Linked DNA regions of Homo sapiens: regions 2, 3, 4, 5 and 6 are each linked to region 1. Evidence: promoter capture Hi-C in human tissues and cell types (Jung and others, 2019). All regions are on one chromosome and are shown on one strand. Each heading gives the region's core, a stretch centred on a gene start or on the middle of the fragment in contact. The rest is flanking DNA. Distances are from core to core; before and after follow the strand shown. Region 1 holds the start of DIS3L2 (DIS3 like 3'-5' exoribonuclease 2). Region 2 overlaps DIS3L2 (DIS3 like 3'-5' exoribonuclease 2). Region 3 overlaps DIS3L2 (DIS3 like 3'-5' exoribonuclease 2). Region 4 overlaps PDE6D (phosphodiesterase 6D). Region 5 overlaps DIS3L2 (DIS3 like 3'-5' exoribonuclease 2). Region 6 overlaps DIS3L2 (DIS3 like 3'-5' exoribonuclease 2).

Evidence for each region. Contacts are between HindIII fragments. The study calls those that stand out against the background at their distance.
Region 2: a contact is called between a fragment that was not itself captured here and the fragment with the promoter of DIS3L2 in region 1, in 4 of the 25 tissues and cell types used here (IMR-90 fibroblasts, liver, mesenchymal stem cells and 1 more).
Region 3: a fragment that was not itself captured here is called in contact with the fragment with the promoter of DIS3L2 in region 1 in 5 of the 25 tissues and cell types used here (IMR-90 fibroblasts, dorsolateral prefrontal cortex, liver and 2 more).
Region 4: a contact is called between a fragment that was not itself captured here and the fragment with the promoter of DIS3L2 in region 1, in 1 of the 25 tissues and cell types used here (spleen).
Region 5: a fragment that was not itself captured here is called in contact with the fragment with the promoter of DIS3L2 in region 1 in 1 of the 25 tissues and cell types used here (IMR-90 fibroblasts).
Region 6: a contact is called between a fragment that was not itself captured here and the fragment with the promoter of DIS3L2 in region 1, in 2 of the 25 tissues and cell types used here (IMR-90 fibroblasts and mesenchymal stem cells).

What each region holds. Positions count from the first base shown.
Region 1 is chr2:231,958,890-231,963,841 of GRCh38, forward strand. It overlaps DIS3L2 (DIS3 like 3'-5' exoribonuclease 2), which reads left to right and starts at 2,824. Exons shown (of 21, transcript NM_152383.5): 1 at 2,824-2,876. RefSeq lists an enhancer at 2,702-2,791 and a silencer at 2,922-3,081. The HindIII fragment of the contact is 18,963 bases long and covers 1-4,952 here.
Region 2 is chr2:232,181,363-232,186,314 of GRCh38, forward strand. All of the region lies in intron 9 of DIS3L2 (DIS3 like 3'-5' exoribonuclease 2), which reads left to right. Among named protein-coding and RNA genes, the nearest start is that of MIR562, 11 kb to the left of the region's middle. The HindIII fragment of the contact is 3,458 bases long and covers 404-3,861 here.
Region 3 is chr2:232,159,669-232,164,620 of GRCh38, forward strand. It overlaps DIS3L2 (DIS3 like 3'-5' exoribonuclease 2), which reads left to right. Exons shown (of 21, transcript NM_152383.5): 9 at 3,791-3,964. Among named protein-coding and RNA genes, the nearest start is that of MIR562, 11 kb to the right of the region's middle. The HindIII fragment of the contact is 8,631 bases long and covers 1-4,952 here.
Region 4 is chr2:231,773,860-231,778,811 of GRCh38, forward strand. All of the region lies in intron 1 of PDE6D (phosphodiesterase 6D), which reads right to left. Among named protein-coding and RNA genes, the nearest start is that of PDE6D, 4.9 kb to the right of the region's middle. The HindIII fragment of the contact is 7,341 bases long and covers 1-4,952 here.
Region 5 is chr2:232,125,892-232,130,843 of GRCh38, forward strand. It overlaps DIS3L2 (DIS3 like 3'-5' exoribonuclease 2), which reads left to right. Exons shown (of 21, transcript NM_152383.5): 7 at 4,728-4,828. Among named protein-coding and RNA genes, the nearest start is that of MIR562, 44 kb to the right of the region's middle. The HindIII fragment of the contact is 8,059 bases long and covers 1-4,952 here.
Region 6 is chr2:232,100,086-232,105,037 of GRCh38, forward strand. The region is part of intron 6 of DIS3L2 (DIS3 like 3'-5' exoribonuclease 2); the gene reads left to right. Among named protein-coding and RNA genes, the nearest start is that of MIR562, 70 kb to the right of the region's middle. The HindIII fragment of the contact is 5,354 bases long and covers 63-4,952 here.

The sequences.
Region 1 (4,952 bases), core at 1,574-4,073:
TAATGGACTGAACGAACATATGCTAGTGGGATAAGCCTCTTGCCGCAAGTCTACTCCAGAGTGTGTTGTGATCTTCCTTTAGCCCACGTGAGGAAGCCAGGGCTCACATCACTTAAGAGGGCACAGTGCGCTGGGCGCTGTGGCTCACGCCTGTAACCCCAGCACTTTGGGAGGCCGAGGTGGGCGGATCACGAGGCCAAGAGATCGAGACCATCCTGGCCAACATGGTGAAACCCCGTCTCTACTAAAAATGCAAAAATTAGCTGGGTGTGGTGGGATGTGCCTCGTGAGCCGAGATTGCACCACTCCACTCCAGCCTGGCGACAGAGTGAGACTTCATCCCCCGACCCCCACAAAAAAAAAAGAGGGCACAGTGATATGTCCACCCTAGCCCTGTAGCCTATACAAAGGCAGGCAGCACACTTTGACAAACGACCAATCAAAATGAGATTTGTCCGTTGAACTTAAGGAAAATAATGGTCTCAGCCCTACTTCCTCTGCTCTTGTCCTTGATTCTCTATTCCTACTTTTAATTATTTTTGGTTTCCTTGGCTTCACCTCCTATTTCTAGTCCTGAAATCTCAGGTTTTCTTTTTATTTTTTTATTTTTTGAGACGGAGTCTTGCTCTGTCTCCCAGGCTGGAGTGCAGTAGCCCGATCTAGGCTCACTGCAACCTCCACCTCCCAGGTTCAAGCAGTTCTCCTGCCTCAGCCTCCCGAGTAGCTGAGGCTACAGGCCCCCACCACCATGCCTGGCTAATTTTTTGTATTTTTAGTAGAGACAGGTTTTCACCATGTTGGCCAGGCTGGTCTCGAACTCCTGACCTCAAGTGATCAGCCCGCCTTGGCCTCCCAAAGTGCTGGGATTATAGTCATGAGCCACTGCATCCGGCCACAGATTTTATTTCAATCCTTTGTTCTCTTCCTCTTCTAGGTCTTCCCCTTCCTGTCCCCACTGGCCCCTCTCCTATCCACTGAATCCCTGGATGCCTGACACCCTCTGCCTCCTGTCCTTGCTGGGTTTCCTCTACCCTCTACATTTCAAAGACAAGTTTTGCTGAAATCACAGTTTTCCTGAGGGTTCTAGAAAGGTCTGTGTGAACATTAAAAAACAAAGGTTCCTTGGGTTCATTTAGTCTTTAAGCAAACATCGATTGAGGCCTGTGTGTGTGGCAGGTACTGCAGATGCAAAGTTTTCCACCTTCATGGAGCTCATAGTTACTAAGGGAAACCCTGAATTTTCTTAGACTACTGCAACGCACTGGCCGGGTGCGGTGACTCACACCTGTAATCCCAGCACTTTGGGACAAGATGGGCGGAAGAGTGAGACCATCCTGGCTAACACGGTGAAACCCCGTCTCTACTAAAAATACAAAAATTAGCCGAGAGTGGTGGCACGCGCCTGTAGTCCCAGCTACTCGGGACTGAGGCAGGAGAACTGCTTGAACCCAGGAGGCGGAGGTTGCAGTGAGCCGAGATCGCACCATTGCACTCCAGCCTGGGCGACAGAGCGATAGTCCGTCTCAAAAAAAAAAAAAAAAAAAAAAAGAGAAATATAGGCACAATTTAATGCATCTCTTTTCCTTTTTCAATATGGAGCATACGGTGGTTCAAGCATCTGTCCACATTGTATTCCCGAAGTTTGATCCCTACCCTGCCCTGCCCTCCCGTCTTTCCTTCCCTCTCTCTTTTTTTTTTTCTGGAGTGCAATGGTGCGATCTCGGCTCACTGCAACCTCCGCCTCCGGGGTTAAAGCGATTCACCAGCCTCAGCCTCCTGAGTAGCTGGGATTACAGGCATGTGCCACCACGTCTGGCTAATTTATTATTTTTAATAGGGACGGGGTTTCTCCATGTTGATCAGGCTGGTCTCGAACTCCCGACCTCAGGTGATCCGCCCGCCTCGGCCTCCCAAAGGGAAGTTTGATTTTTCTATGGTCACCAATGGACACTTGATCTCCATAGCTTGAGAATGGCGGCCATCCCCTCACTGGCATTCTTTCCTCTTGTGCTCTCCCGAACGTTCTGGCTGCTCTTTGGATTTCCTTTTCCTTTGCTCACATCTACAATATTGGTGTTTCCTAGGTCCCGTACTTAACGATTGTTTCCTCTCAACACGCTTCCCTGGGCGGGCTGAACTGTCGGGGGCTTTCTCGGCTGCGCTTCCTCTCTCACCTGAAACCCTCTTCCCAACCCTTTATACTAGGTCGACGTCTCCAACATCAGCTGCTCCCCACCCGTGTCTGGGTGGGCCCCTTGGGCAGGCTCCCCTAGTCTCCTTTCCTTCGATCATCCCCACGTGCAGGACGTCATCTGCTTGCTCTGCCATCAGCCTCACATCCTGAGGGCAGGGACCATGCGGGGGTTGTCCATCTCTGTATCCCCAGTGCCAGCACTGCACCTCGCCCCAAGCAGTTGTCCAATAAATGAGCAGTGAGTAAATGAAAGAATGAGCAAAGCCTTGTAACAGGAAAGGGGCCGGCGGCGTCTGCCGTGCAAGACCTGGCCCAGTGGAGCAGAGCCTGGAGGTTCAGGAGCCGGGTCTGGAAGGCTCCTTCCGGTGGAAGAGGGGCCCGGAGCCAGCCGGCGCCTGGCACAAGGCGTCTCAGAGGCCGCCCACTGGGAGCCAACCGTTGCAGCCAGTTGTCCCCGCGAGCGAGGCCGGAGAAGGCGCGGCGGCCCCTGGCCTGGCCATTTCGCCCTTGTCGCAGCTGAACCGCCGACTACGAGCTCCTGCACCGCGCACACACCCCGCGCGCTTCGCTCTCGGCCTCGCCCGGCCACCGTCGCTCTCTAGAACGCCGCGCCCGTGACCCGGAAGAGCATTCTCCTTAGCAACTGCGGGACTGCGGCGGCGCCGGCCTCCGGGGAGAAACGGTGAGGCCCTCACTCGCCTGCCCCCTGCACCGCCTAGTGCTGCACGACCCCCTCGGGACCGACCCGGGGTCTGGCCTCTGGGGGGCTCCGCGGCGCTTCGCCCGGCACCTGTGGTGGCGGCCCGGGACGAGCGTCTTCCGCCTCTGGCGTTGCTCCCCGGCCCACGCGTCTTCCCTGTCCCGCATCTCCCTCAATGTCCCCAGCTCCCCACTCTCCGCTCCTGACCGACCCGGCCTCCCAGGCCGCGCTTATAGCGCCGGGGCCCTTGTAGCCTAGGATGGCGTGAGGGGAGCGAGACCAGAATTAGAGCCTGTTGCTGTAGAGAGGACGCCTCCCGAGGCTCGGGTCACCTGTGGACGCGTTCTCTAGGGTCTTGATCGAGATGTTCAGGACTGGCAGGGATGGGGAGCCTCGGGAATCTTGAAGGGCAGCCGCTTAATTATAACATGTCCTTGACGTTTGCGCTTTCCACAGTGATACACTTTATCTCCTTTATTGATCATAGAGAGTTTTTTTTTTTAATAAACTTTTAGATATGGGGGATACGCATGCAGGTTAGTCACATGGGTATATTGCACCCAGGTATTGAGCATAGAACCCAGTAGGTAGTTTTTCAACCCACATCCCCCATCTCTCCCCTCCTTCCAGTAGTCTACAGTGTCTACCGTTACCTTTTTTTTTTTTTTTTGAGACGGAGTCTCATTCTGTCGCCCAGGCTGGAGTGCAGTGGCGCGATTCGGCTCACTGCAAGCTCCGCCTCCTGGGTTCATGCCATTCTTCTGCCTCAGCCTCCCGAGTAGCTGGGACTACAGGCGCCCGCCACCCCGCCCGGCTAATTTTTTTGTATTTTTAGTAGAGACGGGGTTTCACCATGTTAGTCAGGATGGTCTCGATCTCTTGACCTCGTGATCCGCCCGCCTTGGCCTCCCAAAGTGCTAGGATTACAGGCGTGAGCCACCGCACCCGGCCGACTGTTCCCATGTTTATGTCCATGTGCGCTCAATGTTTCTACTCCCACTTGTAAGTGTGCTCAATGTTTAGCTCCCACTTATAAGTGAGAACGTGTGGTGTTTAGTTTTCTGTTCTTGTGCTAATTCGTTTAGGATTATGGCCTCCAGCTCCATCTGTGCTGCTGTAAAGGACATGATATCTTCCTTTTTTGTGGCTGCATAGTATTCCATCCTGTACATCCACATTTTTTTTTTCCAGTCCACCATTGATGGTCACCTAGGTTGATTCCGTGTGTTTGCTATTGTGAATAGCTCAGCCGTGAACATACAACTGCATATGTCTTTTTGGTATAATGGTCTGTTTTCCTTTGGTTATATACCCAACAGTGGGATTGCTGGGTGAAATGGTGGCTCTTTAAGTTCTTTGAGAAATCTCCAAACTGCTTTCCACAGTGGCTGAACTAATTTACATTCCCACCAACAGTAGTTTAAATGTTCCCTTTCCAAGGGAGCCTAATGAGGATCTGTTGTTTTTTGACTTTTTGATAATAGCCATTCTGACTGGTGTGAGATGGTATTTCATTGTGGTTTTGATTGGCATTTCTCTGATAATTAGTCATGATCATGTTTTCCATATATTTGTTGGCTGCTTGTATGTCGTGGTTTTTTCTTTTTGTATTTCTTCTGAGAAGTGTTCATGTCCTTTGGCCATTTTTAAAAATGGGCTTATTTGTTTTTTGCTTGTTGATTTAAGTTCCATAGGGATTCTGGATATTGGACCTTTGTCAGATGCATAGTTTGTGAATATTCTCGCCCATTTTGTAGGTTGTCTGTTTAATCTGTTGATAATTTCTTTTGCTGTGCAGAAGCTCTAGTTTAATTAGTTCCAACTTGTCAATTTTTGTTTTTGCTGCAGTTGCTTATGGGGACTTAGCCAAAAATTTGCCAAGGTCAGTGTCAAGAAGTGTATTTCCTGGGTTTTCTTCTAGGATTTTTATAGCTTGAGGTCTTTTATTTTATTTTGAGACAGGGTCTCACTGTCACCCAGGCTGGAGTGCAGTAGCGTGACTGCAGCTCACTGCAGCCTCGATTTCCCAGGCTCAAGTGATCCTCCCACCTCAGCCTC
Region 2 (4,952 bases), core at 883-3,382, 220 kb after region 1:
TGCTAGATTGGGGAAGTTCTCCTGGATGATATCCTGCAGAGTGTTTTCCAACTTGGTTCCATTCTCCCCATCACTTTCAGAGTGACACCAATGAGACGTAGATTTGGTCCTTTCACATAGTCCCATATTTCTTGGAGGCTTTGCTTGTTTCTTTTTATTCTTTTTTCTCTAAACTTCCCTTCTCGCTTCATTTCATTCACTTCATCTTCCATCGCTGATAGCCTTTCTTCCAGTTGATCGCATCGGCCACCATGCCCGGCTATTTTTTTTAATTTTTTAATTTTTTAATTTTTTGAGACAATGTCTCACTCTGTCACTCATGCTGGAGTGCAGTGGTGCGATCTCAGCTCACTGCAACCTCCACCTCCTGGGTTCAAGTGATTCTCCTGTGTCAACCTCCAGATAGCTGGGATACAGGCGTGCATCATCACACCCAGCTAATTTTTGTTTGTTTGTTTGTTTGTTTTTTAGTAATGATGGGGTTTCACCATGTTGGCCAGGTTGGTCTCGAGCGCCTGACCTCAGGTGATCTGCCCACCTCAGCCTCCCAAAGTGCTGGGATTACAGGCGTGAGCCACCGTGCCCGGGCGCCTGGCTAATTTTTGTATTTATTTGTAGAAGTGAGGTTTCATCATGTCACCTAGGGTGGTCTCGAGCTCCTGGATTACAGGCATTAGCCACTGTACTTTTTATAAAGGCATTTACAGCTACTCCCTCCCTACTTCCCTGATTGCTTTAGCTACATCCCATAAATTTTCATAGGTTGTATTTTGTTTTCATTTATATCTAAATATTTTAAAATTTCCTTTGAGATTTCTTCTTTGACGTATTTTTTATTTAGGAGTAGGTTGTTTAATTTCTACATACTTGTGAATTTCTCTAATTTCTTTATGCTATTAATTTCTAATTCCATTCTATTTTGGTCAGAGAACATACTTTGCATGATTTTAGTCCTTGTATATTTATTGAAACTTGTTATATGGTGTGGAGAATGTTCCATATCCACTTTAGAAGAATATGTTTTCTGCTGTTGTTGGATGGAGTGAGTGTTCTGTAGATATCTGTTAGATCTAATTGATTTATAGTTTTGTTTAAGCTTTCTATTTTCTTGTTTATCTTTTGTTTATTTTTTATCTCTGTTACTGGATGTTGTGTATTGATATATATTACAGTTGAATTCTACATTTCTCCCTTAAGTTCTGCCATTTTTTGCTTTGTGTATTTTGTGGCTTTGTTGTTAGATGCATGTGTGTTTATAATTGTTTCATTTTCTAGATGGATTGAGCCTATCATTGTTATAAAATATTATCCTTTGTCTTTAGTAACACTTTTTGCCTTGAATTCTATTTTGTCTGCTATTAGTTTGGCTACTCCAGCTCTCTTTTGTTACTGTTTGCATGACACCTGCACATGCATACACACACAGGCACACACACACATACAATTAAATACTATTAAATAGTAATATAATGTGGCAGCTCTGGAAATCATCTTGCCTCCCTTCATTTCCAAGGTTTGCTGTTATTGCTGTTTGTTCTTTCTGCTGTTCATTTTCTGACTTTTTTGAACTAAGTCTTTTGAGTCTATGCTGTGATCTGAATGTCTGTGTTCCCTCTAAGTTCGTAGGTTGAAACTCTAACCCCCAAATTATAGTTTAGGAAGGCAGTTAAGTCAAGGGTAGAGCCCTCATGAACGGGATTAGTGCCCTTATAAAAAGAAGCATGAGAAAGAAACCTCACCCCTTTCACCATGTGAGAACATAGTAAAAAGGTGCCATTCATGAGGAAGTGGGCCTTCATCAGATATTGATTCTGCTAGTTTCTTGATCTTGGACTTTCCACTCTCCAAAACTGTGAGAAATAAACGTTATAAGCTACCCAATTTATAGTATTTTGTTATAGCAACTCAAACAAACAGAGACAGTTTGTATTCTTTGTTATTTGAAGCTACTGAAATCTCTGCTTGGCTAGCTTAGTGGTCACCTAATGAATAAACAGAGATTTCCTTAAATATTTGAAAACAGTAAGTCTCTTAGCGTTTGTTAAGAGGCTCTGTGTCGACTAATACCTTTAATGCTTAGGCATGCACTTTACAACTCTGCCATAGCCTTCACTTCCTGCTGTTGCAGAGCTTCAGGGTCAGCCAGAAGTAAGAGTGTAAGACCCTTCTTAAGTCTTTCTTGGGCATGTGCACAGCCCTATGCATGAGTGTGACCATCTTTATCCCCAGGAATGTGTCAGACCTTTTCACAGCCCTTTATAGATGCCTCATTCTCCAGCTTTTCCTTTTAATGTTTTTGGTCAGTTCTTGTTGACCAGTACTTTAGCTCACTGTTATCACCATCTCAGATAGCTGCCATGTTAAATAAATACTGCTGAATGTTTTTGATGAACACCCCTGGGGCTATAAGGCTGTTTGCAGTGAACAAGGTTTGATGAAGGTCAAATTAAGCAAACCCGGTAAATGGGGGTTTTCAGGGAACTGCTGGATAGGTCAAATAATGACATTTCTCCTGTGATGCTGTTTTTAGGGTGCTGTAAACCTGTTCTTGCCACTCCAGTGACTGCTAGGCCACTGGTTTTCACCACGATTACAATGCTGTTGATTTTAAGGCTGGAGAGAGAGATAGAGCTGGAAAGGGGGATGTGGGAATATGGAAAGTAAACTTTGTAAGTAAAACTTTACAAAGTTCAGTGTCCTTGTTGATATTTAGCCATTTTTCTTGAGTAATTGCATCTCAGATTGTTAAAAGCCTGTGGTTAATTTCCAGAGTTACACTAAATTTGATTTTGACAGTTTTGTCCAGTGTTGTTGTTACTTATATGAAGTAGTAGCTTTTCAGAGGAGGCCTCTACTTTGCGAGTCCCACTGATGTGACTCTCAAGTCTTTTCACTTTTATTGCTTGAGTTGGAGATAAAAGAAGACAGTGTCCTGCAGAAAAGCTACAAGCTTTCCTGGGAAAATAACAGAAAGAGTGAAAGGAAGATAGAATTTGAAAATAAGGTCGGGTGCGTGGCTCATACCTGTAATCCCAGTACTTTGGGAGGTCCAGTACTTTGGGTGGATTGATTGAGTCCAGGAGTTCCAGACTAGCCTGGGCAACACAGCAAAACCCCATCTGTACAAAAATTACAAAAATTAGCTGGGCGTGGTGGCATGTGCCTGTAGTCCCACTACTAGGGAGGCTGAGGTGAGATAATCACTTGAGCCCAGGAGGTTGAGGGTGCAGTGAGCTGTGATCGCGCCACTGCACTCCAGCCTGGGAAACAGAACAAGACACTATCTCAAAAAAAGAAAGAAAAAGAAAAGAAGCATATAGTAGTCAGTAATTGTGTGGGCAAATTATTCCTAAGATTAGTAGTGTTGGGTAGCCTGACATTCGTATTAGGGCAGGTCAAAAATGAAATGGTCAACTCTGTTGATAATAGGAAAAGAGGAAAATAAATTTCTTAGCTTCTTATACAATATCCTGTTCTGCTTTCAGCCCTTCATCTTTCCTCAGTCTTGCTCTGTCATAGTTCTCTGTCTTACCTATGCCTTGCATTGTACTTCATCCATTTTCCAGGGCCCGTCTTGAATGCTGTGAATTTTTTGTCTTCTCACTCTAGAAGAATTAGCCTTGCCCTTCTCTGTTCTCCCGAGGCAGTCTGCTCACTTGCCATAATGTACCTAATTTACTTAAATATGACTCTGTCTCTCTGATGGGTAGCAAAGTTCTCATCAAGAGCAAGGACTGGGTGTTACTTTTCTGTTTCTAGGTGCTAACTCAGTACATGGCATCCAGACCCAAATAAAGTGATCATGGAATATTCACCAAGATAGACCATATCTTGAGTCATCAAACAAACTTCAGCTCATGTGAAAATGAAGTCATATAGGGTATGTTTTCTGACCATATGGAACTACAAACTAGAAATCCATAACAGGACAATAGTAAAATATCTAGACACTTGGAAATTAAACAACACACTTATAAATAATTCACTGGTTAAAGAGGAAATCTTAAAGGAAATTTTTAAAAAATATGTAGAACTGAATGAAAATGAAAGCACAACATATTAAAATATGTGAGATGTCGCTAAAGCAGTACCGAGGAAAATTTATAGCTCCAAGTGCTTACATTAAAAAGAAAAAAGATCTCAGCAGTGAGCTATGTTTTTACCTTAGGAATTTAGATAAAGAAGAGCAAGGCTGGGCATGGTGGCTTATGCCTGTAATCCCAGCACTTTGGAAGGCCTAGGCGGGTGGATCACTTGAGGCCAGGAGTTAGAGACCTGCCTGACCAACATGGTGAAACCTCGTCTCTACTAAAAAAATAAAAACAAAAAACCCCAAAATTAGCTGAGTGTGGTGGCTTGTGCCAGTAGTCCCAGCTACTCAGGAGGGTAAAGCAGGAGAATTGCTTGAACCTGGGAGGTAGAGGTTGCAGTGAGCCAAGATTGTGCCACTGCACTCCAGTCTGGGCAACAGAGTGAGACTTCGTCTCAAAAAAAAAAAAAAAAAGCACGATATGCCCAAAGTAAGCAGGAAGGAAGAAAATATAAAGATAAGCACTTAAGTCAATAAAATTGGAAATTGGAAAACGGTAGAGAAAATTGGTGAAACAAAAAGCTGGTTCTTTTTTTTTAAAACTTTGACTTAATTTTTAAAAGAGACAGGATCTCACTATGTTGCCCAGGCTGTTCTTGAACTCCTGGACTCAAGCAGTCCACCTGCCTCAGCCTCCCAAAGTGCTGGGATTATAGGCGTGAGCCACCATTCCCAGCCAAAAGCTTGTTCTTGAAAAAAATTAATAAAACTGATAAGCCTTTAGCGAGATTGATGGATAAACGGAAGACACACATCACATTAGAAGTGATATGGGACATCACTACAGATACTGCAGCCATTTAAAGGATAATAAGGAACATACAAATGGTTTTTCAAGAAGTTAATAATTCAACATCTTAGA
Region 3 (4,952 bases), core at 893-3,392, 200 kb after region 1:
TTGGTGAAAATGAACACTTTGTCTTCTTTCTGCTCCAAGGGAAAGCATTTCACTTTTCACCACTAAGTTTTACATTAGTGCTAGGATTCTCATAGAGGCCTTTAACCAAGTTGAAGAAATTCCTGTTACTCATGTGCTGAGGGCTTTTATCTTAAGTGAATGTTGAAATTTTGTCAAATGCTTTTTCTTCATTTACTGAGATGATTATATGTGTTTGTTTTTTGTTTGTTAATATGTTGTATTGATTGATGTTTCATTGTTGGACAAATCTTGCATTATTTGGTCATGATGTATCACCTTTTTTATATATTACTGAATTCTATTTGCTAATGACCTTGTAAGAAGTTTTAAATTTTCTTTTTCAATAACTGATATACCTTTGTAAGAATTTTAAGTCTATGAGAGGTATTGATCTCATTAATCCTTTGGTTTTGATATCAAGGTACTGCTGTCTTCATTAAACTAGTTGGAAAGTATGCCATCTACCTCTTTATTCTAGAAGAGTTTATGTAGAATTGGCAATAATTCTTTCTTAAATACTTGGTAGAATTCACCAGTGAAGCCATCTGGGTCTGGAGTTTTCTATGTGGGAAGGTTTCAAACTGTGAATTCAGTTTCTTTAATAGATACATTAGATAAAATAGATAATAGGTAGATTAAATAGGAATATTCAAGTATCAATTTATTTTAATTATCCTAGGCAGTTTGCATCTTTCAAGGAATTTGCCCATTTCATCCAAGATGTTGAATTTATTGTCTTAAAGTCATTCATTATTCCCTTATCCTTTTAATGCTTGTGGGATGTAAAATGGTGTCTCCTCTCTCATTCTTGATATTGGTAATTTGTGTTTTTCCCTCCTTGTTTTTCTTGATCAGTCAGGCTAGAAATTTATCTGTTTTTCTCTTTTCAAAGAATTAGCTTTTGAGCCAGGTGTGGTGGCTCAAAGCTGTAATCCCAGCACTTTGGGAGGCCGAGGTGGGCAGATTGCTTGAGCTCAGGAGTTCGAGTCCCAGCCTGGGCGACGTGGCAAAACCCCATCTCTACAAAAAATACAAAAATTAGATGGGCCTCAGCTACTCAGGAGGCTGAGGTGGGAGTATTGCTTGAGCCTGGGAAGTCGAGGCTGCAGTGGGCCATGATTGTGCCACTGCACTTCTGCCTGGGTGACAGAGTGAGACCCTGTCTAAAAAATAGAATTAGTTTTTTGTTTTATTGATTTGTTTTCATTATTCATTCATTTTTGTTTGTTTGTTTGTTTGTTTTTTTGAGACAGACTCTCACTCTGTTGCCCAGGCTGGAGTACAGTGGCGTGATCTCGGCTCACCGCAACCTCCGCCTCCCGGGTTCAAGCGTTTCTCCTGTCTAAGCCTCCAGAGTAGCTGGGACTGCGGGCATGCACCATCACGCCCAGCTAATTTTTGTATTTTTAGTGGAGACGGGGTTTCACCATGTTGACCAGGATGGTCTCAATCTCTTGACCTCATGATCCTCCTGCCTTGGCCTCCCAAAGTGCTGGGATTACAGGCGTGAGCCACCGCGCCCAGCCTATTTGTTCATTTTCTATTCATTGATTCTTGTTTCTTCATTATTTCTGTCCTTCTCCTTACCTGGAATCTAATTTGTTCTTCAGTTTTTTAACGTAGAAGCTTAGATCACTGATTTGACACTTTTCTTCCTTTCCGATGTGAGCATTTAATGCTGTAAATTACCCTCCAACCACTATTTTAGCTACTTCTCACAAATGTTGACATGTTATGTTTTCATTCAATTCAAAATTCCCTTCCTCCCTCTCTCCATTACTTCCTTTCCTTTCTTTTTTGAGATAGCATCTCGCTCTGTCGCCCAGCCTGCAGTGCAGTAATGCCATCTTGGCTCGCTGCAACCTCCATTTCCTGGATTTAAGTGATTCCTTTGCCTCAGCCACCCGAATAGCTGGAATTACAGGTGTGTACCACCACACCCAGCTAAGTTTTGTATTTTTAGTAGAAACGGGGTTTCACCACGTTGGCCAGGCTGGTCTCAAACTCCTAGCCTCAAGTGATCCACCCGCCTTGGCCTCCCAAAGTGATGGGATTACAGATGTGAGCCACCGTGCCTGACCCCAGTTCAATTTTTTTTTTTTTGGAGACAGTCTCACTCTGTCACCAGGTTGGAGTGCACTGGCATGATCTCGGCTCACCGCAACCTCTGACTCTCTGGTTCAAGGGATTCTCCTGCTTCAGTCTCCTGAGTAGCTGGGATTATAGGCACGCATCACCACGCCCAGCTAATTTTTGTATTTTTGATAGAGACGGGGTTTCACCATGTTGGCCAGGATGGTCTCGATCTCCTGACCTTGTGATCCGCCTGCCTCAGCCTCCCAAAGTGCTAGGATTACAGGCGTGAGCCACTGCACCTGGTCCAAAATATTTTCTAATTCTTTTTTTATTTCTTCTTTAACCTATGGGTTGTTGGATTTCCACATATTTGGGGATTTTCCAGATTGCTTTCTGTTAATTTTTCTCTCATATTTTTGCTGTCTGGCTTTTTGATGTGTTTTATGGGAGAGACCACCCATTTGTGGAGAAAGTACTCTTCTGAGTCCACATCATATGGGAGGAGCCCACAGGTCAGTCTGCAGGCTGCCGAGATCATAGGCTGGTGGGCGGGTGCACAAGTAGACTGGGCTGGTCTCTCTTGACTAGTGTGAGAAATGGGGCCAGCCCTGCTGCCATCACTGCTGCATTCCAGTGGCAAGGCTGAAGATTGGAATTTGTTAAAAGTCTGCTTATGAGGCAACCACCTCCCCTATTCCTCTTTACCACTGTGCACATAAGAACTCCAGCAGCCAAGCATCTACCCTTATTTAGGAAACAGAACCTTTTTCATAGAAATCGAATAGCCTGAGAGAATGTCCTGATGCCATAGCTAAATTTCTTGCAGAAAGTGCTGAGGGCGGACTCTTGGAGCACCCTGGTAGATAAGTAGACTTGTACAACAGAGGAGATGGCCATTTTTGGTCTCCGCAATACCCTCTACAAAGGCAGCCAAGGCCCATAACACATTTCCTGTTGGCTGCCTGTATTCAACGCACAAATTTAGACTTGTGATCTGTATGTGGCATGACAATGCTTATGAGAATAGAGAGCTGTCAATTTGGTAAGGAGTGAGATCTGCCTTCTGAAAGGTGGAACCCTGTTCATAATGTTAGCATTGTCCTGTTAAATGCAATTTTATTTTTAATGGGCCAGTGCCCTAAAATGTGCATGGGTGACTGGTTTATGGATAATTTTAATTTTCTTCTCAGTGGATTTTGTGTTTTCTAACTTCTTTGCAATGAACGTATATTACTTTTGTGTTTAGATAAAATATTTTAAAATTTTAAAGATTAAAAACTGGTAGAGTTGTGAAATAGGAACATCAGAATTAATCTAGTAAGCATGACTTAACGTACAGGCACTCTGAAACTAATGATTTAATAGCACACTGGATTGATCATAATATCAATTTTGACTTCTCTGTGAAGAACAATTGGAGGGGTCCTAAGGAAAGCCTTCTGGCTCTGTTTCTCAAGTCAGAATGTCAAATAAAAAAAGGTGAAATTACACTGTAGTTACCGATTTAACAGGAGAAGAGCATTACTGTGTCTTCTGCTTTCCCATTGCCAGTGATTTACGGATGATCATGTTTCTACTGGTGGAAGGGCAGGAGATTTTAAACTTTCCCACTACTTTACTTTTAGAGAGGAGACAGGTACCTATGTTCCATTTGTTTGCTAACCCAGTTATTCCGTTTCTGTTCTATCCATAGGCAGCTGGCTAAGAGTCTTGGGCAGGCTGGTGAAATTGAGCCTGAAACAGAAGGAATACTAACAGAGTATGGCGTGGATTTCTCTGATTTCTCTTCAGAAGTTCTAGAATGTCTTCCTCAAGGCCTGCCATGGACAATTCCACCAGAGGAGTTCAGCAAGAGAAGGGATTTAAGGTAAGCACCTGAAACCCTTTAAGAACGTATATCTCCCTTTCTGCCTTAACTTTCCTAGGGGCTAGGCTTAGATGTTTTCATCTTTCCACGAACATTCAAGTTCAGTTCAGTTGGGAATAGGTGCTTCTGTACCACAGTTGGCAAATTATGGCCCACAGGCTAAATCTAGCCTACTACCTGTTTATGTACAACCCATGAGCTAAGAATGGTTTTTACATTTTTAAATGGTTGGAAAAAATTAAAACAAGAATAATGTTTTATGAAAATTATATGAAATTCAGATTTCTGCGACCATAAAGTTGCATTGGAACATGGCCATGCTTATTCATTATCTATGTTGCTTATGGCTGTTTTTTGCCCTACAACAGCCCAGTTGATTAGTTGCAACCAAGACCATATGGCCTGCAAAGCCAAAAGTAGTTACTGTCAGCCTTTTACAGAAAAAGTTTACTGATCCCTGTTCTAGACCATTCTAACTTCAAAAGCTACAGTGCCTATCTTCTCATTGCCATAGATCTGGTCAAGTACAGACTGTTATCTAGTGAGAAGTGCCTTCCTTTAAATGGGCCTCTTCAGGCACAGAGCAAAGGATTCAAGACTTCTGTACTTGGAGCCTCATTTTAAAGCCTTACTTTTAGGTCTGGAATTTGTTGGAAAGTACTTTCGTGGTATTTTTATAACAACATCTTCTTTGAAGATGTTTCTTCATTGTGGGATGTTAGTTCTTTTCTGATATTTCTCTTCAGAATTTGGTTTCAGTACTGGCACTCATTTTGGATGCCACATGGAGATATTTAGAACCAAGAAACTTTTCATACAACCCACTGAGGCTGTGGAAGGTTTTTGCTAAGGTCATCCCATGTCAAAGTCTTTTCCACCACACTTGCTCGCTTCATGCAGCTGAACTTATGACACCTTCAGCTCTGGGTGCCTGTTACCCACCTAGTTTGTGAATACTCCCTCTCTGTACCTTCTTACTATTGTATCT
Region 4 (4,952 bases), core at 896-3,395, 190 kb before region 1:
TAACTAGAATGAAGGCATTAGTTATATCTCAGAGAAATAAGTAGCTTTACAATCATATTAACACTATTGTCATTATTATTATTATTATTATTGAGATGGAGTCTCACTCTGTTACCCAGGCTGGAGTGCACTGGCGTGATCTCGGCTCACTGCAACCTCCACCTCCTGGGTTCAAGCAATTCTCCTGCCTCAGCCTCCCGAGTAGCTGGGATTACAGGTGCACACCACTACGCCTGACTAATTTTGTATTTTTAGTAGAGACGGGATTTCACCATGTTGGCCAGGCTGGTCTTGAATGCCCAAACTCAGGTGATCCACCCACCTCGGCCTCCCAAAGAGCTGGGATTACAGGCATGAACCACTATACCTGGCCTGTCATTATTATTAGTAATTATTAATAAAATGAATGGCAGCAGATATTACTATATGCCAGGCCCTGAACCAAACATCTTTTATGCAGTTTCATTTAATTCTCAAAACAACCCTCTGATAATATGAGATACAGATGCTGAGGCTCAGAGTCTGAGTGTTCTGTTGAGAGTCACAATAGCAGAGGCAGTAAGTCTAAACCTTGGAAGTGAGCCCATACTCTCAACCACTGTGCTATATACTCTACTGCAGTAATGTGTAAACATTTGATAGATACCAATTACTTTCTACAGACACTACACACACACACATAAACCAAATGAGAGTGCCCCTTTCCCTCAATGTTGTGAACACTGAATATTATCTTTTTTTTTTTTTGAGACTGAGTCTCTCTCTGTCACCCAGGCTGGAGTGCAGTGGTGCAATCTCGGCTCATTGCAACCTTGGCCTCCCAGGTTCAAGTGATTCTTCTGCCTCAGGCACCCTAATAATAGCTGGGATTACAGCTGTCCACACCATGCCCAGCTAATTTTTGTATTTTTAGTAGAGACGGGGTTTCACCATGTTGGCCAGGCTGGCCTCGAATCCCTGACCTCAAGTAATCCGCCCACCTTGGCCTCCCAAAGTGCTGGCATTACAGGCATGAGCCACTGTGCCTGGCATCTTTTTTTTTTTTAATAAATTTTTATTTTTATTTTTTTTGAGACAGAGTCTCACTCTGTAGCCCAGGCTGGAGTGCAGTGGTGTGATCTCAGCTCACTGCAACCTCTGCCTCCTGGGTTCAAGCAATTGTCCTGCCTCTGCCTCTTGAGCAGCTGGGATTACAGGCGTGTGCCACCAAGTTTGGCTAATTTTTTGTATTTTTAATAGAGAGGGAGTTTTGCTATGTTGGGCAGGCTGGTCTCAAACTCTTGGCCTCAAGTGATCTGCCCACCTTGGTCTCCCAAAGTGTTGGGATTACAGGCGTGAACCACTGTGCCTGGCCTAATTTTTAATTTTATTTTCGTACAGTGCCACTTTCAGGATATACATATATATTATCAATCTTTTAAATCTGTGTCAATTAATTGGGAAGAGATAGTCCATTATTATTATTATTGACAGGGTCTCACTCTGTTACCCTGGTTGGAATGCAGTGGGGCACAGTCTTGGCTCACTGCGACCTCCACCTCCCAGGCTCAGGTGATCCCCTCACCTCAGCCTCCCAGTAGCTGGGACCACAAGCATGCACCACCACACCTGGCTAATTTTTGTGTGTGTTTTTTTTTTTTTTTTGTAGAGGCGGGGTCTTGCCATGTTGCCTAGGCTGGTCTCAAACTTCTAGGCTCAAGCAATCCACCCACCTTGGCCTCCCAAAGTGCTGGGATTACAGGCATGAGCCCCTGCACCCGGAAGATAGTCTATTATTTTAACAAGGTTGAGCATGTCCTCATTTATTCATTGGTCATCTGCTTTTTCTTCTAGGAACTGCTTGTTCATATCCTTTGTCCACTTTGAGTTAAATGCTTATCCTATTGATTTGTAGGCAGCCATTTATATTCTGGATATTATAATATCTGACGTATAAATGAATTAAATAAATAAATGGAGACAATAAGCCAATATTAAAAAAAAGCTACATTACTACTCTGTATCTTATACCAAAGAAAATTCAGATGGATTAAAGATAATGAAATCATAAAAGCATAATTCATTCTTATGGAAGTCTGTCAGTTTCTTGTTAATTTAATAAAGTTATATTTTTATGTTGATGAAAAAGCTATTCAAATAGGCAAAACAGTAGATACAGACTATACTAGAAAGCTAGTATAAGAGTACTGTGACAAATGCTAGGTGCAGTGGCTCACGCCTGTAATCCCAGCACTTTGGGAGGCCTGAGGTCAGGAGTTCGAGACCAGCCTGGCCAACATGGCGAAACCCCCTCTCTACTAAAAATACAAAAATTAGCCGGGCGTGGTGGCAGGTGCCTGTAATCCCAGCTACTTGGGAGGCTGAGGCAGGAGAATCGCTTGAACTCCGGAGGTAGAGGTTGCAGTGAGTTGAGATCACATCACTGCACTCCAGCCGGGGTGACAAGAGCAAGACTCCGTCTCAAAAAAAAAAAAAAAAAAAAAAGAGTACTGTGACAAATCTGTCAGTGAAAGCAACTGAAAGTAACTATCTTTGGAAATCATAAACATGGTAAATCTATTATTAAGTGAACAAAGTAAGTTACAAAGTGATATTTACAATTCCATTTTTATAAAAAACACATTAAACATTAGCTACATTAGAAGGCTATATTAAATAATATTTACAAAGGTCACTCTAGGTGGCTGGCGTTTGTAATAGGAAAATTAAATAGAATTTTAAAAAATGCATTGCTTTTGAAGATATTCCTTCTAAACAGACATAAAGCTGGTTAAGCTTCTGGAAAGAAGGGACTGTAAGTTATTCATTTTTGTATCCTTCAAGTGTAGAGTGCCCTATACATAATAGTCACCCAACAGACCTTTGTTGAAGGAACGAAATGGGAAACGTGGGATTTACAAACATCAATCTCTATGTCAGCTGCTTAAAATAATCAAATCCAAAATATTTGCAGGAGAATCATATTGTTCCCCAAGTAACATTTCATTCATAACATTAATTTACAATTAGGAAATGTTATGCTTTTAACAAACAAGAAAGAAATGCAAGGTTCTTAATGTGTATGAGAGCCTTGCATTTCTTGAGAGGTAGTATAGCGCCACAGTCCAGTATAGCTCTTAACCACTATGCTATATTACCTTGTATGGATCTAGGGATCCAGGAAAATACAAATCGAAACAATGTGTTGTCCAAACTGGCAAAAATAAAAAAGATTGACCTAGTCAACGTGGAAAACTGAGTACTATCAACACTGTTGGCAGGAGATCATAATGGTGCTCTTTTTGTAGTGATAAACTCTTCTCACAAAAACAGATACTCTGAAAGAGGTAGGGTGAGATGGGGTGAAGGTGATACAAGAATAAAATCTTATAAGATTTTGTTTTTGAAACAACTGATGGCAAATACAAAGCTTCTACTGAATTCACTCAGACCATGCCTAATTTATGCATACAGTATTCACTTTTATGCAGTATCTTTAAATTTTTTTTTTTTAGAGTTGGGGGTCTCGCTATGTTGGCCAGGTTGGTCTTGAACTCCTGGCCTTGAGCAATCCTCCCACCTAGGCCTCCCAAAGTGCTGGGATTACAGGTGTGAGTCACCATGCCCAGCCAAGTCCTCATGTTTCTATCTACTATGGGCATATGGGCAAGCTTCCATGTGAACAAAAGGGGCACATATTTGTAGGGACCTTAAACACACATATTATGTTAGTCACAGACCATTCTATTGTAAACTATACTAAATCATATTATAAAGCTATAATAATTCAATCAAATGTGTATAGGTACAAGAAGAGACAAATAGATCAATGAAACAGAAATAATCCAAAAAAAAACCTATGTCTTATGAAAATTTAGTATATGACAAGGATGGCATTTCAAAACAGTGAGGAAAAGATGGACTAACTACTTAGTAAATAGTACTGGAACTATTGGCTATCCAAACAGCAGAAGTACTTAGATGTCTACCACATACCAAATGTGTAAATACGTTCCAGGTGGATTAAAGAGCTAAACATTGAAAAGAGAAGAAAAGATAGGATATTTAGTTAATCTTGGGATAAGAAAGATCTTTTTAAACAAGATACAAAATGCAAAAGCCAGATGGCAAATATTAATAAATTTGAGGCCAGGCACGGTGGCTCATGCCTGTAATCCCAGCACTTTGGGAGGCAGAGGCAGGCAGATCATGAGGTCAGGTGTTTGAGAACAGCTTGGCCAACATGGTGAAACCCCATCTCTATTAAAAATACAAAAATTAGCTGGGCATGGTGGCATGCACCTGTAATCCCAGCTACTCAGGAGGCTGAGGCAGGAGAATTGCTTGAACCTGGGAGGCGGAGGTTGCAGTGAGCCAAGATTGCGCCACTGCATTCCAACTTGGGCAACAGACCAAGACTCCGTCTCAAACAAATGAAATAAAATAAATTTGAAATGACAATTTAAAAATTCTGTTCAACAAAAAAGGAGACAATACATTGAAAGAAAATATTTGCAAAATACATAATAGGCAAAGGATTGATATTACAATATGTAAAGAACATCTACAAATAAGAAAAATAAACAATAGTAAAATGGGCAAAAACAAAATTAACAAACAATTTACAGAAGAAAAAGAAATGGCCAAATAGAAGAGATGTGCAACTTCTCTAATAATAACAAGAATAACACTGGCTAAAGCATAATGCTCACTGTGGATCAGGTGCTTTTCTAAATGCTTTAGATATCAACTCATTTACTCTTACAGCCCCATGAGATAGGTACTATTATTTTCCCCATCTTACAGATAAGAAAATTGAGGTGAGGTTAAAGCAGTTGCTCAGGGACACACAACTAGGAGCGCAGGGCTGGAATTCCAATGCAGGCAGTATAGAGACATAGTCCAGTATAGCTCTTAACCACTATGCTACATTACCTTTTCATGGATCTAGGGATCCAGAAGAATACCAATTA
Region 5 (4,952 bases), core at 800-3,299, 170 kb after region 1:
CATAAGATAAGTTTTCCTAGTTGGTTTTGAGAGATCCAGAAGGGACATATTTTCATTTACAAATACATACTGCATTCTTTTCATTGAACTCTTTGGAAATTGTAAATTTCTGTGGCCCTCCATTCAGAGATTGAACAAGCTTGGATTTGTCAGCTTTGGACTTAAATCACTGCCATTATCTTAATTTGGGTTCTGATTGTGTCTCACCTAGATTCTAACCTCAGCTTTCTAAGATCTCTGCTACCATTGTCTCTTCATTCCAGGGTTCTATCAAATTCATAGCTCTAAAATACATGTGTGATATATAGCTCTTAAGAGAAGAATTGCCCTGGCATTTATAATGCTTTATAGGATAGTGTCCTAGCTTGTCAGTTTCATTGTCTGGGCCTGTATGTTAGAAAGTATATTCCGTAGAGAATAGCATTAAATCCTAAAATATCAGTGGCTTAAACAAGAAAGAAGTTAATTTCTATCTCACGTAGAAGAAGATCAGAGACAGGCAGGCCAAGACTTGTAGGATAGCTCCACAGTCTTCAGCTCATTCTGTTGTACTGCTCTGCAGAGTAGAAAACACCCTTGACCTCTGGCCTCCAGGACCAGGATGAGCGATCAAGGTCCAGCTATCAAATCCACATTCCAGCCCGCAGGATTGAGAAGAGAGAGAAGGCTGGGCCTCTGCCTTGTAAGGTTACTCCTGGAAGTCACTAACAACACACTTTCCCCAGAATCTTGTTGCCTAAAATGTAGACATGCAGGGATGTGGCTGAGGGATGTGGCCTTTTAACTAGGTGGCAGTATGCCCAGCTAAAAATTGGAGTTCTTTTTACTAGGAAAGAAGAGGCTGGATAATTGGGCAGTGACTAGTCCCTCCCACAGGGCCATTCTACCAGCGTTATTTCCCCCCTATTCTAGTTCCTCCCTACCCAGCACTGTGTCCCCAACCTGTTAATAGCTACAGTAAATCTTTTACTGGGCCTTTACCATGGCAGGTCCACTCACAGATCTAGGTCTTTCACAAGTTCTGGCCTTTGTCTGGAGTGGCCTTCAACTTCCTTATTTCTCTTTGGAACATCTATATCTATATATCCTTCAAGGCTCAACTCACTTCCTCAGTGAATTTTCTTCATTAACAGTGACAGAACATTATCCCTTACTTTTGTGTATAGCAGTGTGGTGCACTGGAAGAGTTTCATGGATTTAGGGGTTGCATGGACTTGCATTTCAATATCCTCTCTCCAGCTTGGGCTGGAAAGTTTCTCAGCATATAAACTGTTTGTAAAGCTACAGCCCAGGTCTGTTTTCTGAGTTCCAGACCTTCATTTTGAATTGCTTACTCAGTTTCTTCACTTAAAAGTCTCATATGTGACCTATCAAATAGAACCACCTCCGAAATAGAATTATTGATCTTTACCCCTTCCTCTTGTCTTTCCTGTGCCATAAGTGATGCCACTATCAACCTAATTGCTAGTGTCAGAAAGCTGGAAATAATCCTTGACTTCTCTTAGCTGATAATCCTTAAGCTCTCATATGTAATTATCACCAAGACTATTCAACTCCAAAATATATCTTAATTCCATCTCCAATGCCTGCATCACAGCTCCAGCCTCTCATGCCTTGACTATTGCAGTAGCTTTTAACTGGTCTCCCTACACCCACTCTTAGCCTGCTCTTATCTTGCCCTGGGCAATGTTGCTGTCTTGCACAGAATCCTTACCCATCTTGCCGTTGTACTTAAATTCTGGCTTCTTATGTTCTGCAAGGCCCACACCTGACTTGGCACCTATCTACCTCTCATTCTCATCTCTAGCCATGCCCATTCTTGCTCACTGTGCTCCAGCCATGCCTCATGGTCTTTGTTCTGGTCCTTGATTGTGTGAAGAACTTCCTGCCTTTACCCTTTCCTGTGTGCCATTCCTATCTTGGGTCTCTCATTCTCCTCTTCACTCCTGTATACACTGTCCTTATGTCTCAATTTAAATTCTTTCCCTGATCTCTAATCTAAATCATATGTCCTTTCCCCCTTCTTTTTGGGATTATTCTTTCCTTCTTAGCATTTATTACAGTTTTTATTTTTTTTGAGACAGGGGCTCACTGCGTCGCCAAGGCTGGAGTGCGGTGGCACGATCCTGATTCACTGCAGCCTCCACTTCCTGGGCTCAAGTGATCCTCCCACGTGAACCTCTCAGGTAGCTGGGACCACAGGTGTACACCATCACACCTGGTGGATTTTTTTTTTGTATTTTTTGTAGAGACAGGGTTTTGCCATGTTGCCCAGGCTGATCTTGAACTCCTGGGTTGAAGTGATCCTCCCACTTCAGCCTCCTGAAGTGCTGGGATTACAGGCGTGAGCCAACATGCCCACCCTATAATTTTATATTTATTGAGTGATTATTTATATGATATTCCCACATTAGTCTATAGGGCTGGGATCATATTTCTTTTAACACTGGATCTTCAGTGCATTAATGTGTTCAATAAATACACATGGAATAAATGAATAATAACTGATCTTGTGATTAAACAATGTAGTAGAGTCTCATTAAATTGACAACTTTGCTAATTTTTTTTTTTTTTTTTTTTTTTTTTTTGGAGAGACAGGTTCTTGCAGGCTGGAGTGCAGTGGTGCAATCTTGGCTCACTGCAGCCTTGAATTCCCAGGCTCAGGTGATCTTCCCACCTCAGCCTCCTGAGTAGCTGGGACTATAGGCGAGCACTACCATGCCCAACTAAATTTTATATTTTTAGTAGAGACAGAGTTTCGCCGTGTTGCCCAGGCTGGTCTTGAACTCCAAAGCTCTAGTGATCCTTCTGCCCTGGCCTCCCAAAGCACTGGGATTACAGGCATGAGCCACCCAAGACCAGCCGACAACTTTACTATTCAGTGTGGCAAGACATGGTTGTTGGAAATGTATTAAGGTGATTCACCTTTTCAACCTGGCATTGTGTTTCTTTATATCCATTGACTGTTATCTGTGATTCTCACCTGTAAGGCTTTAAACCTTGGTTTAATTTATTAGAATGTAACTTTGTCTGAACAAAGCCTCATTTCTGCCAGGATATCCTTCTGAATATAGAACCTGAAAAGGTCATGTTCAGGTCTGATAGAAAATCATGATTGGGCCCACTTCTATGGCTTGCCCTCTCTCTTAAGATGTAATTTGGTATAACATTTTGAACAGCCGACTTGCTGTTGTTGGGATGGAATCTGAGGTAACAGTCATTTGAAGATGGAGCCATCAGTGATCATCACAGAAAGCTGTTTGCCCAGGATTTAGGCTGCCTTGGAAACCCAGTCCTCTCACTGCAGTGTCTTGATTGGTAGCATTTGAGACCAAACTAGTTGTCAAATATCTAAGTAGAGGATACTTATTCATGGTAATTCCACGCTTTGATTTTTTTCCTCAGTTACTTTGTTCTGCAGAGCACATTGGTGAGGTATGTTATGGAACAAACAGATCAACAACTTGTGTGGTTTTTTTTCTCTCTACAATTATAAAAAATGTTCTAAAAGCATTTGATGATTTTGGAATCCTGAATTATGGGTTTAAAAGAAAAGTTGAACCTTGCTGATGTCCTCTTTCACTGATAGAGAGGGCAATCTACGATAGGAAAGTTTGTGTTTGCTTTTACTTTTTGGAAAACAATGAGGATTCTGCATTCAGAGGGCACTTCAGTAGGTAGATTTCAGCATAGATGGAAAAGCAAACAGTTGATCATTCTTAAACCCCGGTAGGTCAGATCATGTCAGTGTTTCCAGAGTACGCCCAGAATGGTAAAAGTTGGCTTTAAGCTGAGTTTTTGCTAAAAGGCAGCCAGTCCTGAAAAGGATTGATTTATTTACTTTGGCCTTGGCAACATCTAAATGATGATAAGTGCAAGTTTCTCTTAGCTCTCTGGAGAGGCTCCCACGTAAATTGGTTGTGACCCCTAGAATCCAGAATCCCTAACATAGTTGGATAAGAATATTTTGTGGGGAAATCTAATGTAACAAGTAAAGATTCAAAATTTTAAATGTTTAGAAGTGTGTAATTTGCTGCTTTTGTTCATGAGTGTTTTTAATACTTCTGGTAGAGAGCCTAACTGCCTCTTTCCTCAGGAGATGTGGTTTCAGTTTCTTGGGTGAATGTGCGTTTTGTAAGTTTTTTAAGAAAGGAAATTAAACATTAAAAGACTTTAAGTACTTTACTCTTTATATAATGTCACTAAGAAAAAGCCAGGAAAATCAGGGTTGGGTTTTTAAATTTATTTATTTAATAAATATAATCTATTTTCCACCATTTTGTTTGTTATGGCTGGTACCAAAGTACTTTTAAAAGTTAACATTTATTATGATTTTGTTTTATTTCAGCAGATGTGCATAATAAATTAACCTATCTCTATTCTTCATTTTGGGCTGGGGCAGCATTTAACATCTAGTTTTTTGGAATTTCGACACACAGGCTATTTAGTTTAATTCAACATAGTTTGATGCTCTCCAGTTGTATGATATTTATGATAGTATGTGAATAATGTTAAGTAGATAAAATGTGGTCTGCTGAGGCTGAGTGCTCAGCCTGAGTATAATACTGGTATGTGACAGGTCCACTGGCGGCCTGGGGTTCTTCTGTAAAGTGAGTAGTTTGGGGTAACTGGTATCCAGGCATCTTTCTAGATTGAATTTTAAAATCCCACTAATTGATATGCATCTGGTTGATGACTCCTCTTCTCTCTTTATCTTTTTAATGTAGGAAGAGAGGATGGTGATGCACCGGTTACAAAAGATGAGACCACCTGCATTTCACAAGACACAAGAGCTTTATCGGAGAAATCCCTGCAAAGATCAGCAAAGGTCATTGCCTACAGATTTTCTCCACGTGTCCAAATGGCTTTCACCTGAGCTACTTGTTGAAGATCTCGTGTGATTCAGTCAGGACTGTATTTGGTCATTTAATCAGAAAAGTTAGAGCAGAGAA
Region 6 (4,952 bases), core at 1,490-3,989, 140 kb after region 1:
AGTGCAATTGCGTGATCTCGGCTCACTGCAACCTCTGCCTGCTGGGCCCTGCCTCAGCCTCCTGACTAGCTGGGATTACAGGTGCCTGCCACCATGCCCTGCTAATATTTTTTTTTTTTTTTTTTTTTTGTGGTAGAGCCAAGGTTTCACCATGTTGGCCAGGCTGGTCTCGAACTCCTGACCTGAAGTGATCTGCCCACCTTGGCCTTCCAAAGGGTTGGGATTACAGGCGTGAGCCACCACACCTGGCCTTTTTTTTCCTCTATTGTTGATGTTTTGTGTATCTTTGATATTTGCCCTTAACTTTTTAATTTAATTTCTTATTTTCCAGGGATGTTGCTTTTTTGCCCTTTCCCCAAATTCTTGAGTTGAGTACTTAGCTTATTAATTTTAACTTTTCTTGTTTTCTTTGAACTGTTTTTAAAGCTACATATGTACCTCTAAATACTTCTTTAGCTCTATTCTACAGATTTTTATGTCCAGTGTTTTTATTATTATTCACTTTTAAATGTTTTCTTTTCTTTGTGATTTCTTTTGTAACTAGGTTATTTATTAAGGCTATTTAATTCTGTATTTTGCTATTTTTTGTTAATGTTTAATTTTATTGTCAGAGTATAGGATGTCTGTATATTTAATTCTTTATAGTTTATGGATAGTTCCATTATAGTTTATTATATTGTCTATATTTTTAAATATTACACATATGCTTTGAAAGAAAGGTGTGTGTGTGTGTGTGTGTGTGTGTATATATATCTCCACAAATTTGATTTATAATTATATTGTTCTTCCCTTCATAGTAAGCTGTTTATTATTGTGTGTACTTTATCTGTCAGTTTCTGAGAGGGATCTTTAAAAATTTATGTCTGGGGGCTGGGTGTGGTGGCTCACGCCTGTAATGCCAGCACTTTGGGAGGCCGAGGTGGGCGGATCAGTTGAGGTCAGGAGTTTGAGACCAGCCTGGACAACGTGGTGAAACCCCGTCTCTACTAAAAATACAAAAATTAGGCGTGGTGGTGCACCCCTGTTGCCCTAGCTACTCAGGAGGCTGAGGCAGGAGAATCACTTGAACCCGGGAGGCAGAGGTTGCAGTGAGCCAAGATTCATACCACTGCACTCCAGCCTGGGTGATAGAGTGAAAAAAAAAAAAAAGATATACCTTCCATTTAAAAATCTGTGTCTGTAAATTTTGATGTATTTGTATTTCTTACATTTTGATTTATTTGTATTTCCTACAGTCTTGTCAATTGTAGCTTGATATATTTTGAAGTTGTGTTGTTATATACATATGTGTATGCTAGAATATACCTAGATGTATTTTTTGTATACATGCATATCCATATATGTGGATAACTATTTGTACCCATATTTATCATCAGTATTTAGTGAACATTTACAATGTGCTAGGCCCTTTCTAAGCACTTTGTAATTAATTCTCATTACATTAGTTAATCCTTAGAACATACCTAGTATAGTGTCTATTTTAGGAATATAAATAGTATCTATCTCAGGAATTCCAGTAGTTTTTATTCCCAAGATGCAGAAAAGTTATGCAGTTGGTAAGTATACTTTAAGATCATTCTAATTGATCTGGAATAGGGCTAAGCATTGGTATTTTGAAAGAGCTCTTTAGAGATTCAAGGATTCTGCTACATACTCAGCATTGCTGCTGTAGAATCAGCCCTAGGCTTGTCCTCCCAACTATTACATTCTTTCTCCCCTAATAAATAGCAATATATACAATACAGGTTAAACATTCATAGTTCTCTAACCCTGAGTTTAATAATTCAATCAAGAATCATTGCTGGATACTAAAACTATTGAGATAAAGGTTTTGGGGACCAAGATATTCACATGGACTCAAAGTATCATGCCACAGTTGACTTACTAATTAATTACACTGGGCAGAATGTCCTTTTATAGTGGACATATTTGGTGGTCACCAGTTTAACCAACTGATCAAGCTTAGCATCATTAATTGGGATAGTCTGACATTTTGTACCTTCTGATGGGATGCATTATTGAATATCATTGTCTGTGAAGCATTCATGCTAAAAATGTTTCACCGGAATCAAGCCTCTAGCCCTAACTTCCAGTCTACTGGAAATACAGGGGATATTGGAATAAGTTAAATGACACCAAGGGAGAAATAATAAGATTAAATCCAATGCCATGAAAAGCAAGGGGAGTTGTTCTAGTGAAACAAAAAGCAAGAGAGACATAACTAAAAATATTGTGTGAAGCTTGGTTAGAACCTGGGTTGGGGAAATAATATGGTAGCAACAATTGGGGAGATTTAAATTTAGAGTGGATATTAGGTGACATTTTGGAATTACCATTAATTTTCTTAGGTGCGATAATGATATTGCAGAGATATAGGAGAATGTCCTTATTTTTAGGAGATACTGGCTAACATGGTTGGGGTGAAGTATCCTGATGTCTTTAATTTATTTTGAATGGTTCAGAAAAAAGAAGAAACGAAACTATGTGGTTGTGTGTGTGTGCAAACACACGTGCATATACAAATCAAGAGAGAATGGGTGCAAATGTAGCAATATGTTAATTGGTGAATCAATAGGTGTTCATAATATCACTGTTTCAGCTTTTTAGTAAATTTAAAAATCTTTAAAATAAAACATTGGGTGAAAGAGAAAAATTGCTATGTTCTACAGTTCGGTGTGGATTTCAAGAGCTGGCATTGCTCATCCCATCTTTGGCCCTGAAGTAACTCTAAAGCATAAAATAATAATTGCTTATTCAATACAAATATAGTCAGGACTGCTGTTTTCAGCTGGGTCTTTTTTCTAAAAATTACTTTTATTCGGCCAGTCACAATTTTATTTCCCATTAAAAATGCCAGTGTGTCACACAAGGTGGTAGTAAAATAAAAATCTTGAGTAAAGATTTTTAACTTATTTGAGTTAACAGTGGATTAAGAGAAATTCTTGTGAAAATTAATGAAGCCTTCAAGTAATTTTGTAAACATGATTGTTTTTATGAACCTCCTGTAAAAGTCAAACAGAATGACTTTTGTAAAAGTGAAACGTTCATTTGCTTGAATGTTCTGATTATTTCTAATAATTTTGTAGTTGGTTGTTTTGATTTTCTAGGTGTAAAATAATTTTGTCTTTTCCTTTCTAATTTTGTACCTTTTATTTATTACCTTATTTCATTGGCCATTACTTTAAGAACTGTGTTGCATAATAGTGGTGATTGTCTTGTTCCAGACTTTAATGGGAATGCTTCCAATATTAAACCCTCAAGCACAATGCTGGTTATTGGCTTGAGACCAAGTTAACCAAATGTCCTCTTTTATATTAAAAGTTTCTGTTGGGAATAGATATTGAATTCTCCTCAAGTGCCTTTTGAGCCTCTTTCAAGATGCTGTTTTTCCCTTTGGCTTGTTAACATGATGACATATAATATTGAATAATTCTTGCATTCCTCATCTGACCATGACCTTCATTTAGTCATGGTATGTAGCATGCATTAACATGTAATTCAGTTGTGTTTGCTAATTTATTCATGATTTTTGGATTTACAATAAAAAGTGACATTAGTCTGCAGTTTCTTCTTGTTTTCGTAACTTGGTAGGAAGAATTGGGGAGCTTTTCTCATTGCCTTGGAATAGTTACAATAGCGTTGAGAGTGATCACATATTCTCAATGATTGAAGCAATTGAAGAACTCATACTTGAAACATGGGCTAGAGCTTTCTTTAGTTGGCAACTTTCTCAATCTCCGGTGATTATTGATTTCTTTAAATTTTCTTTGCATGTATTTTGATAATTATATTTTCCAGGAAAATAATACATTTTGAGCACATACTGTAATGTATTAGAATAGAGCTATATGAAGTATTTTCAGTTGTTTAGTTTCATCTGTATCTGTGATCATAACCCCTTTCAGGTCCCCCCCCACCACCTTTTTTTAACACTAGCTAGTGACTTAATCTGTTTAATTTTTAATGGAAATAGATTTCTGCCATTTTTGTTTATTATAAATAATTTCTACTGTTTTTATTACCAAGGAATTTCTTTTAGATATGGTAAATGTGAGATGGTCATATTTAATTAGAAATACAGACTGAAGTTCATGATAGAGGTCTGTGAACTGGAAATGCAGTTTCATGAGTCATTACTGTCAAATTAATTCCTTGAGTAACTCCTGGATTCTGAGAGTTCTTTTAAGAGACTGTCAGAGGACGAGGGCCTACCTGTTCTCTTTTCCTGCCACCTGGCTTTCCCTCCCTGACGCAGCAGGTATTGTTTATCAAACTGTCCCCTGCCCTGGAGTCTCTATAACACACAGAAACTTTTGTGGGTTAAATTTGTTTTTTATTGTGGTAAAAAAAAATTTGCCATTTTAGCAATTTTTAAGTGTACAATTCAATGTCATTAATTACATTTTCTGTGTTGTGCAACCACTACCACTATTTCCCAAACCTTTTCATCATCCCAAACAGAAGCTCTGTAACCAATAACCATCCACTCCTCATTTCTCCCCCAACCCCTGATAACTACAAATCTACTTCCTCTCTATAAATTTTCCTATTCTAGAGATTTCATATAAGTGGAATCATACAATATTCTTTTGTGTCTGGCTTTTTTCACTTAGCACAATGTTTTCAAGGCACATATATGTTGTAGTGTGTATCAGAACATCCTATTCTGTGGCTGAATAATATTCCATTATATTGTATATACTGAATTCTGGTATTTTTGCTTGTTTGTTTTTTGCTTTTGAGACAAAGACTCAGAGGGTCTGGCTGTGTTCCCCAGGCTGGAGTGCAGTGGTGTGATCTCGGCTCACTGCAACCTCTGCCTCCTGGGCTCAAGCCATCCTCCCACCTAAGCCTCCTGGAGTAGCTGGGACTACAGGTGGCACCACCACACCCAGCTAATTTTTGTATTTTTTGTAGAGATGGGGTTTCACTATGTTGCCCAGGTTGGTCTC